Regions from separate parts of the Homo sapiens genome. Here regions 1, 2 and 3 are each linked to region 4. Evidence: promoter capture Hi-C in 16 types of primary human blood cells and fetal thymus (Javierre and others, 2016). All regions are on one chromosome and are shown on one strand. The core of a region is centred on a gene start or on the middle of the fragment in contact, and the rest is flanking DNA. Distances in the headings are between cores, read along the strand shown. Region 1 has its middle 36 kb from the start of LINC02058. Region 2 overlaps LINC02058 (long intergenic non-protein coding RNA 2058). Region 3 overlaps KIAA0825. Region 4 holds the start of NR2F1-AS1 (NR2F1 regulatory antisense RNA 1).

Evidence for each region. The method cuts DNA at HindIII sites, captures the fragments that hold promoters and counts their contacts. A CHiCAGO score of 5 or more calls a contact.
Region 1: a fragment that was not itself captured here is called in contact with the fragment with the promoter of NR2F1-AS1 in region 4 in 1 of 17 cell types (endothelial precursors); the score reaches 5.9 in endothelial precursors.
Region 2: a contact is called between a fragment that was not itself captured here and the fragment with the promoter of NR2F1-AS1 in region 4, in 1 of 17 cell types (endothelial precursors). The highest score is 5.5, in endothelial precursors.
Region 3: a contact is called between a fragment that was not itself captured here and the fragment with the promoter of NR2F1-AS1 in region 4, in 1 of 17 cell types (fetal thymus). The highest score is 6.9, in fetal thymus.

The regions. Positions count from the first base shown.
Region 1 is chr5:92,902,181-92,904,923 of GRCh38, forward strand. No RefSeq gene overlaps it. Among named protein-coding and RNA genes, the nearest start is that of LINC02058, 36 kb to the right of the region's middle. The HindIII fragment of the contact is 5,814 bases long and covers 1-2,743 here.
Region 2 is chr5:92,928,481-92,931,180 of GRCh38, forward strand. All of the region lies in intron 1 of LINC02058 (long intergenic non-protein coding RNA 2058), which reads right to left. Among named protein-coding and RNA genes, the nearest start is that of LINC02058, 10 kb to the right of the region's middle. The HindIII fragment of the contact is 943 bases long and covers 902-1,844 here.
Region 3 is chr5:94,523,385-94,526,084 of GRCh38, forward strand. KIAA0825 reads right to left here. Exons shown (of 21, transcript NM_001145678.3): 4 at 546-714. Among named protein-coding and RNA genes, the nearest start is that of KIAA0825, 94 kb to the right of the region's middle. The HindIII fragment of the contact is 531 bases long and covers 1,161-1,691 here.
Region 4 is chr5:93,579,944-93,582,685 of GRCh38, forward strand. NR2F1-AS1 (NR2F1 regulatory antisense RNA 1) reads right to left here and starts at 1,276. Exons shown (of 8, transcript NR_186187.1): 1 at 1,199-1,276. RefSeq lists an enhancer at 1,452-1,551 and a silencer at 1,672-1,721. The HindIII fragment of the contact is 7,751 bases long and covers 1-2,742 here.

The DNA.
Region 1 (2,743 bases), core at 56-2,555, 680 kb before region 4:
TAATTTGTGCTTAATGTTTTTGGAAAATTCCAATTTGGAAATTGCAAACTCAAATACCTTGGGGGCCAGGGTAAGGGTCCAGCTCTGGCTTCAGGGTATAGGGCTCACTCAATAGCATTTACATTAAAGAAAAGTAAACTTAAGTGCACAGGAAGAATTCAGGTCCACTAGTTTGTCATCTTTGAATAAAACTTCTCTTTCCTTTCCTGAAATCCCAGACTATATCCTATGCTTTATTTAATATTTCTGGAAATGAAGTTTCTGCCCCAAAAAAGTATTGTTAGAATATATATTTCATTAACTACCTTTACGTATTATTTGTGTCCTATGTTTACTGCTGTTTCTCATTACTAAATGTACTAGAAGAAGAATATATGTTTAATAAGAATGTTGTTTATAATTGTATTCCTATGTGTGAGATACTGTGCTATATATGTCCAAGATCTGCTGGTTAAAACACACACACATACTGCTTTGGTATAAATATGTTTTGGATTGTTTTGTTTTTTAAAAGTATATTGACATCTTAAAATCACACAAGAGATGTTTAATACACAAGATTGCTCACTTAGCAAGTTGATTCTTAGAGGAAATATAAACAGTAAAATTATTAAATAATGAAAACAAAGTTTAAACAACAAAACCAGAATGGATACAATAAAATGAGTATTGCCAATTTCAAGTTAGTCACTATAAGAGGGCAGACCCTTATTCCACTGTTCCGAATATTTTTGGAAGTCCTCTTTCAGGAATTCTTAGGTATCTTTGGTATAGACCCTTTGAAATATTCTTAGTGATGGTGCATCTTCATCAATTGAGGTCAGATTTTATTTTTAGAAAGAGCAGAAAGCCAATCAAAGCCAAGTCTGCTGAATGAGATAAGTGATCAAGCTGAGTCTTTTCACTTCTGATCAAAATCAAAGCACAGTTATAAATCCCAAAGTGATGTGTTTATGTGGCTTTATAAGTTTCTACTGGCATTAAAGACAATTTTAGAGAAAACTTACAAATATGTTCTGAGTATCATTAAAATATGTTATTAACTACCTAAGATAATGACTTTGAAGAAAAAATTCATTTGGATGTATAGCTTTTAATGTACTTTTTTTTAAAAGGAGAAAAAACTAGGGTTTTTTTCAAACACTATACATCAAAATGAAATCTAGGTGAACTAAAAATGTATTTTTATAATTAAACCATAAAAATCTAGAATAAATTATAGCTGACTTATCATAACAAGAAAGTGAGAAACTTTAAGGAGCATATTAAAATAATTGGTTAAAAAATAATGTATCAAAAAATGCATTTAGAAAATTAAAAGACAACATATGGAAAAATGAGGTTTAGTAAATTTACACATTTTTAAAATAAGATATTTTTCACATTAGAAAAAAGCCTTAAATTTTTATACTCACTGGAAAAAAATACAAGTGCTCTCTTAGGCTATAGGATTATAAACTGGCACAACCTTCCTCTAAGGCAAGTTGGCATATGTAAGAAATGCCTGAAAAATGTGCCTTTGACCAGTCAGTTAATTTATAAAAATATATTTAAAGAAAGTATTATGAATGTGCACAAAAATTTTTATTCAGTTGAGTTCTGTGTACTAGTGAAAGAAAGAAAAATAATCTATGCCCAACTATTAGAGGGTTAAATTAATAAATTTTGATATTTCCATATAATAGAATAAACAATGAAAGAACAAATGTTGATAATACCCATGTTGTCAAACAATAACACAACTACAGCTATTTTACTTCTTTCAACAAACATTGAATCTATTTTCAAGTAATCTTAATTCAATTATTTAATGAAAAATAGACCATTGACATCTGGGGCTGTGTGTGTGTGTGTGTGTGTGTGCATCACTGATTTGTACTTTTGAAACACTCCTATGCTGGCTATGTTGTAATTTCTTTTCATTTCTCCTGGATAAAGAATTATCTCTATTTGTAGAAGTTTTCTCACTAACAATACCATGCACTTTAGTCTACATTAGAATGAAGCTGCACAGGACTCTGCTTCTTCTTCTGCCTGTACAGAGCTGTCTTCTTCAATGAGCACATTGTACTGCTTTTCCTTCTCTTCCGGAGAGAGGAGGTTTCAGAGAAAGTGATATAAAGTTTGTGATTATCGCTTCAGAATTGAAACTGTTTTTACTGGCCCTTTAAATCATAGAGAACAATACTGCCCAAGCCACTGATATCCTATCTATATCGGGTGGCCACTTAAATGTTATTTTTCTGCAGATCTTTGCACCTTTTCACATGTGTTTTCTTTAAGTTAAAACAAAAATAAATATGTTTTTGATTATTCATTTATTTCGGTCTGTTAAAACTTGAGCTCCTTCAACTTATTTCGTGTTGGTTTAATTGCTTATAGAGGTTAAAATACTTTCAATGAAATAACCAATCTTGTACTCATTCTACTACGTAACAGAGGGTATTTTCTTAGGATTTGTAAGGAAAATTCCCGAGTACCTTTTAGAAATTTTAGTATGTCTCAATTAAAATAAAATATTATTTTTTTGAAAAAAAGCTAAAATGTGTCAATTAGAAAAATGAGACTTATTGAAATTTCTGTAAAATAAATCACACATTTATATGACTTTCAGAAATATTGATAAAAGAATTTTAATAATCATATTTATATTGTGGACTCAGGACAAGGTAAAAATATGTGCCCTTTTATTTACTTACTATCTAAAAATTAAAGGATTTATTCTGAATTTTGTTAATATGAA
Region 2 (2,700 bases), core at 123-2,622, 650 kb before region 4:
ATGACAGTCTTAGTACAAAGGTGATATTCCTAGTCTAAAAGCCTAGCCATACCAAAAAAAAAAAGTAAGGGATTTTTATAAACCTGACTCTTCAATGTTGTTCTGGTTGATTGTTTAATAAACTATAAAATATTTAGAAACTATCTCAGCCTTAAAATCAAATTTTTAACATGTTGCTAAAACTCACCAAGATATAAGAATCATTTTGGTGTTTTTAAATAGCTAAGACCAAAAATCATGGCTGCTGCGTACAAATGAGTAAATGGAAAGAAAATGCCAAAAAAAAAAAATTATGAGAGTTAAAGGCAGATAACTTTATTGGAATTCTTCTGATTCTTATTAGACCAAAAATTCAGTTAAACTACTTTTCATTAAACACCAGTTATAATCCCAAGCAACTTTTTAACCTCTCATGATGATGCTAAAAAATTTATCCACTGAGTAAATATATCCATTGGGTGTCTGTTACATGTCAACCAAGAAATACAAAAGGAATAAGCAAGACCAAGCCTTCATGGGATCTTATATTATGCACAAGAAAAGAAAAGTTAAGACATAAATTTTTTTAAAGATAAACAATAGAAACGGTTAGATATCAATAACTATAATACAATGCAAAGAATTAAAATTGGATGATGTCAGGTGAGTAATCAGCTACCTGTTTTAGGATGGGCAGAAAAAGCCTCTCTGAGGAGGTTGATATTTAAGCTGAAAATTACAAATGATGACAAGAAGTCAGCCATGAAAAAATAGAGAAAGTATTTCAAGTAGCAGAACAGTTGAGGCAAAACAAGTTTGCCAAGTCCAAGCAATAAAAAAAAGACCATTTTGATAGAATCATAGGTGGAGATATAAAGAGTAATTGAGGGGTGGTTAAAGAAGCAAGCAGGGGTTAGAATAAAGCTTTTTAATTCAGAGAAGGCTTTAGGTCTGATGATGGAAAGCCACTGGAGGATTTAAGCATGGTAATGGCACGATCTCTATTATTCTAAAATATCATTCTGGATGCTCTGTGTAGAAAAGATTGGAGGTTAAAGAAGGAAATCATTTAGGAGACTATAGCCAAAGTGGCTTGGACTATGATCATGGTAGAGATAGAAAGAAGTGGGAAATTTTGGGATTGTTTTAGAAATGTTTTAAAAGGAGAATTGCTAGCACTTGCTGATGAAACTGACATAAAGGATGAGGAGAATAATAAGAATAATTTTTAGATTTTTTTGTTTGTGTTTTGTTTATTTGAGCCACTGGATGGATACTAATACTTTTTACCTAAGTGGGAAAGACTCATGTAAGAGCAGGTTTGGGGGAAAATGAAGTGTTCTGGATTTAGCCATGTTAAATTGGAGACGCTGTTCAGTAAAGGGTTAATTCAGACTTGTGGTGTTCAAACCCTTCACCTTCCAAAAAAGGACTGGCTCTTGACCAGCTTCTGAGATAGGTCTATAAGCTCTTGAAATATTCTGCATGATAAGAGTGTCTTTGTATACCTGGGGTCTTGCTAACAATGTGATTTATGGTAAACACCTGTTTTTGTTTTCTGGGTCCCTGAGACTATATCCGTTTGACCTAAGGTTAATCATATAGGTGCTGCATGCCTATATGAGCGACTCACAGTCAAAACCATGCACATCAGGACTCAGGTGAGCTTCCCTGGTTGGCAGTACTTTTCATGTATTATCACACATTATTGTTGGGAGAATTAAGTGCTGGCCATACAATGTTACCCGGAGAAGACAACTGGAAGCTGCATCTGATTTCCTCTGTACTTTGCCCTCTGTACCATTTTTTTTTCTGATTGCAATCTGTATCCATTCACTGTAACAAACTGTCACCATGAGTACAAAAGCTTTTCTGAGTTCTATGAGTCCTTCTAGAAAATCATTGAATCTGAGAGTAGCTTTGGAGACCCACAACACAGATGTTTATTAGATATCGAAGAGGAGATATTTTATAGGCTGTTGGCTAAGTGAATTGAGAATTCTAGGAGGAATCAAAACAGGAGATAATGATTTTGAGAGTCATGGGCATATAGATGATAGTCTAAAATGTGGGAAGTTCCCCTAGGAAGTGTCTCTAGGAATATCACCTACAATGTCTGCTATTTTTAAAAAGTTGAATTGGATTAAGTCCCTGTTTTTAGGAGCTCCTGTTATTGACAGGAGCCCGGAAGACACATTGGAGATGGATGCAGAAGCTACCACCTATAAATGGAGAAGAAATTCAGAAGGGGCAGCAACTAGATGCAGTAGAGAAAGAGGTCCCAGAGTAGGGCTCATTGGTCCAGGACCTTGAAGAATGAGTAGTATCTTCCTGGTCACTTGGAAAGGGCTCACATGCAAAGAGGAAACAAAACACTCATACTTTATTTAATTTTATGAAGCTATAATACATTTAGTGATTTAGCACTTTGGGAAGGAACTTAAAATACTCTGATAGGCAGAATAATGGATTCTTAAAAATGTTCACATCCTAATCCCAAGAATCTGTGAATATTACCTTTCACGGCAAAGGGGCCTTTGCAGATGTGTTTATGGATGACATCCTGGGTTATCCAGGCAACCCAATGTAATCACATGAGTTCTTCAAAGTGGAGTTCTTTGCCTGGCTGTCATCAGAGAAAGATGTGACGAGGGAGGCAGGGTGAGGGAGAGGCAAATTTACTGGTCTTGAACATGAAGAAAGGAAGGAGTACATGGGCGA
Region 3 (2,700 bases), core at 176-2,675, 940 kb after region 4:
GGTCAATATTAAGAATACCCAACATAATAATTCTCTGTCATTTGGTGGTCTTGCATAAATTGCTACCTTGATTGAAAAGAACTGGGTTAGACTGCAGGTTAGGAATGCAGGGAATAATAGTCAAGGCCACTTAATAGACACAATACATGGGGATCTTATTATGCTTTAATAATGAGCATATAAAAAATGAATAGTGAAAGGATACAAAACATAATGAATATGAACTTTTCTGGTAGACAGCTGTGATACACATCAATACATTTTGTGGTATTGATATGATATATATCATACCACAAATCACCCAGGAATCATAATATTGTATCTCCATTTATATAAAATTTTATTTTATTGATAAAAATCATAGTTAAAAATTAAAACAAATAGCTCAGTGGATTATGTTGGGGATATAGGAACATAAAAACACAAACCCCTATGTATGGCAGGCTAATATGGTCACTCAAATAAATATTTACGTATAGAAATTGAATGAGTTGTATTCCCTGTTTACTCATCCCACTCCATGATAAAATAAAAATTCATTTTACCAGTGTTTTGAAAAATTTTATCAAGTCTCCATGAGAAATGAAAGATGATTCAGATGTACTGTAATTATAGTTAGTTAGCCATTCAAAGCAGTCAGTTGTTGTTTGCAGCTGCACACCTGGACATTGTTTGTTAATTTCGGACTGTATCTCTTTAATGCAATGTTTTATGCTATAAAAAACAGAAGAAAAAGTTATTTTGGCAGGATATAGATAATGGCTTCATTTCATAATATCACAGGCCCTGAAATCTTCATATGTGGTACCTGGCTTTGTACAATTTACAAATTCATTCATATGATATGAAAATAATAACAGACTATACATTCATAGTTGAAAGCTGAGAGTTCAAATTTTCTGGCAGTAAAAAATGTGATAGAGGAAATATAAAATAGCTACTCAGATGAACTAGAAATTCTTTTGTGTTGAAACAAAAATCAAGCATAGATGCAATTCGATAATAGCCCTCTTGATAGGCAGTGGATGAAAGGGAGAGATAAAATACTGAACACTGTAAATATTAGAAATATACATTATCTACTAAGAGGTGAAGGACTATATAAATTATGAAAAATTTCAATCAACGGAATAGTAAGAAGTCATGAAGTAGTTATAAAAAGCTTATAATTTTAAAAGTTGTAAAGTATACAAGCTATATACACAATGTTACTACAGCCAAATACCTTTTCCTGCCATCCAACTCCACTACAAAAAACAGAAACAAAAATTACTAAAAATTGCATTTAAAAAACGACTGGAAGGAAATGAAGCAAAGGGTTAATAGCAATTATATTTGGGTGGGTGTAATTAGGTAAGTTTTAAATTTTACTTTTCCATATTTTCTAAATATTTATAAGGCATAAAATAAAATGCTTCATTCACCAAAAAAGTAAACCAAGAACAGTGAAAAAATGTCCAGTAGAATCTTGCCATATGTATCTGTTTTAAAATTTCCATTCAAAGTATCCTTCCTGTTGATAAAATAACAGATACACTATGTTATTTTAATTTCCATACACACTTATGTGCATTGATGATTATAAATCTTTGTGGGGTAAACTGGTGACCTTTAGCAGAGTGCCATCTGCAGAGCCACAGGGATATGACATATTACTACCACCTGATGGCAGCATATCTAAACTTCAAGAAAGCTTTCAAACAGGCAAATTCCTTTGAAGCTGAAACACCTCACCAAAAATTGACAGCTATGCATTTGTCTCTTAATCATATTAAGAAAGATTTGATACTAAGAGGTAAAGTTAGTGTTTTGAAAACGTAACTGCTATTAATTAAAGGTTCCATATGATAGAACCTGGTAGGCTTTAGAAACCAAGCGCTCATTATTAAAATAGATGTCATACGAAAGACTCTTTGAAATTCATCCAGGTGTGGGTTGCCTATAAAACATACACTGTAAAAGTTTAAGTAAAAGTTTTCAGGAGACTTCTGAGCATGAGTGAATTCAAAGTAAATTACCTTGAAACAAATACATTCTGAGAATCAAAGAGCCTTTTCATGAACACAAAGAACTTAAAAGGAAAACAATACCTCCTCTGGCCACAGGCCACTCAATTTCCTGATGGGACAGCCATATTCAGGAATACCACTTCTACGTCTGACAAGAGATTGGCTTGTATTTTCTTAACTTATGTAAGCACTTCTATGGACAGAGAAACACAATGCCCTAAGCATACCCCTTGACTCTAGGGACTCTTTATCAAAGGTTTTTATTATAGCATCCTCATGTGTCTCATTCAATGAAACCTAATAGATTACAGCAATGTGAATTGGAAAGGCTCAGCAGTTAGTCTACCTAAATCTGTTTCAATGAGGACTCAGATTTTAGGCTAATTTCTAACATCCGAATCTGGGCAGAGGCCAAAAACTACAATTTATAAATAGGGTAAAGCCTTTAGAGGGCTAGATATTTTGGTAATTTGTCCAAATACTGACAAAGGGATTGAGTGGTTGCATTTCAGGGGATCTCCCTCATTGATACAAACTAAGACAGATAAACTTTATTTTAAAATCATTTTGTCACAAATTATAAAATGTCAGAACTAATTATCTACACCTGATTTTGTTTTTAGTTGGCTGTCTTGTTGTCTGCCACTCACCAATGCCTATACACCTTGTTCTAAAAACTTAATCATCTGAA
Region 4 (2,742 bases), core at 26-2,525:
GGGGATGGCGTTACAAACGGCGTCCGCAGGTGGGCGGCTGCAGCCAAGCTCGCCAGGTTCAGGCCGTAACCAGGCAAGGCGCGGGCACAAGGGCCAGCCGGGCCGGACTCTGCAGCCGGCTCCACCGCGGGTCGCGCTCGGCACCAGCAGGAACAGCCGGGCCGGTGTTAAACGTGCGGGTCCCCGTCCTCCGCCCGGGCATCCGTTTCCCGCCTAGGAGAGAGAGGGAATAGCGGGTGGGGGTGGGAGCAGCCTGTTTTGAATGTGGATTGCTGCTCGCCTGGCACGATCCTCCCCTCCAAGGAGGCGCGGCGGCCGCGATCCTCGCCTTAGCGCTACGGCGAGACAGAGGCCGAGCGAGGGCAACTCCCGAGCAGGCCCCGAAGAAAGTTCTCCTCGTCCCGCCCTGGCTGCCTAGACTCTGCTCTCGGCCTGCGGAGGCCGTGCGAGCCAAGACTGCCTCCCGGCCCTGCCCGTTACCAACCCCAAGTTCAAGAGAAACGACAACCATTATGTTACTTGCCTGGTGAGGCAGGATTTGGCCGAGTCTCGTTTCTGGTGCCCACGACGCACGGTCCAGGGTCCGAGGGCGGCTGGGCCGGCGGACTGGGCATCCAGTGTGCCTGCGGTGCCCTGGCGCTCGCTGTCGCTGGTCTCCCACTCCCTTCGTCTCTCTCCGCGTTCTCCTTCCCTCGCCCTATCTCCCTCTCTCCGCCTGCTGCCTCTGCCCTCGACTCCCTGCCTCTGACTGTATGGGGAGTACGATTTAGAATCTGTACATAGAAAGGTTTTCTTTTCTTTCTTTTCTTTTGGTCTATTTTAATCGTGTTCGTTTCACCTTTTAACTGACCAGAAGACGGGAGCGCGTTTGCGCGTTTATTTGGGCATAGGGACGAGGGCAAGGAGCCCCTGCTACCCCCAGTCGCCTCCTCGCCATCAGCTGCGTACAATGGGCCACCGCTCGCGGAGTGCATTGACAGTTCTCCATTATTCGAGCTGGAGGGGCTGTGGGGCAGGCACGGGAAAACCTTTTATTCTGCTCTTTAAAATCATCGCTCGTCACTAAGCGGTCGCCGACTCCCGACTTGTAGGCTGGAGAGACCAGGAAGCGCAAAACGTCCCCCAAACACGCAGTGCTTCCCAAACCCCTCCCTGGTGAGACTTAAAGTGAGAACGAGTATTAAAAAACAAACCCTACCTCTGTCAATACAGCGTGGCCATTTACTTCCACCTTTACCTGAGGGCGTGTTGGCGCTAGGAATGCTCGAGCTGAGACAAACTTTTACGCCCTCGCGAGTCGAGGGGCGGGCGGGCGAGCGCGGCTCCCACCCCCGGCGGCGGCAGCGGCGGCTTTGTCACTCCGCGCGGCTCCGCGCCCGCCTGAGCCTGCCTAGGGGAGCGATCTCAAAACGAGGGGGGTGCGAGTATGCGATTGGAGAATATGTAACTAATAGAAGTATCATTTTCCCCCAGTACGATCTTTCAAGGAAAAAAAAATCCATTGAAAGAATTTTCAAAGTGCTGTCTTCGTTTGGAGAAAAGGCACAGGCTGCCTGCGGGGAGGGGAGGAGGGACTCGGCTGTGTGCCGCCCGGGAGCGGCTCCCGTCCGCTAGGTGGCAGCCGGAGCCAGCGATTCCTGCAAGCCCCGCCGCGGGACCCGCTCCTCCCGCCTGCCCCTCCTCCCGCGACCAATCACCTTCAGGATTCAGGAATCGGGGTCTCGGTCTCTCTCTCTCTCTCTCTCTCTCTCTCTCTCTCTCTCTCTCTCTCTCTCTCTCTCTCTCTCTCTCCCCCTCTCCCTCTCCCTCTCCCTCTCCTCTCTCCCTCTCCCTCTCCCTCTCCCTCTCCCTCTCCCTCTCCCTCTCCCTCTCGTCTCTCTCTCTCTCTCTCTCCTCTCTCTCTCTCTCTCCTCTCTCTCTCTCTCCTCTCTCCTCTCTCTCTCGGTCTCTCTCTCTCTCTCTGGGTCTCTCTCTCTCTCTCTCTCTCTGGGTCTCTCTCTCTCTCCTCTCTCTCTGGGTCTCTCTCTCTCTCCTCTCTCTCTCTCTCCCCTCTCCTCTCTTCTCTCTCTCTCTCTCTCAATATCTCGCGCGCTCTCCTCTCTCCTCTCTTTCCTTTCCTCTCCTCTCTCTCTGTCTCTCTCTCTCCTCCTCCCCCTTTTCTCTCTCCCTCTCCGCCTCCCCCCCTCTCCATCTTCTCGTTTGTTTGCTCTTTTCCCGGGACTGACTTGGCCACACTAATCTCCCCCCACCCTGCAACAATATGGGGACTTACTACTGTTTTATTAATAATGATTGAAGCATTGTTGGAGTTTGGAACAGCCAGGTGATAAAAAAAAAAAAAAAGAAGAAGGAAAAATTGGATTGATTGGAAAGTTTATTTTTAAAATCATCTTTGGGATAAATAGGAACCCTTGATTCCGATCGAATTTGTGGCAATAGCTGCAAATTCCAGGAGTGTGCTTTGTCATCATTAAACCTTTTAAACCAAGGTATACTTTGGATTAAAAAATAGGGAGATCCTACCCTGTTTCTACTTGTTTCTAAAAAGGATATAAAATGAGCAGAATCCAGACTTGGATTGTGCTTATATGTGAGAGAAGAAAACAATCCAAATCCAGTATATTTCACAAATCATTAAAATGGTGGGGGTTTCATTCCCATTAAAAATTTTTCCAAACATTTTCAATGACACTCTCTTCACGCTCATAAAATCTAATTTTAAAAACTTTTCAGAAGAAATCA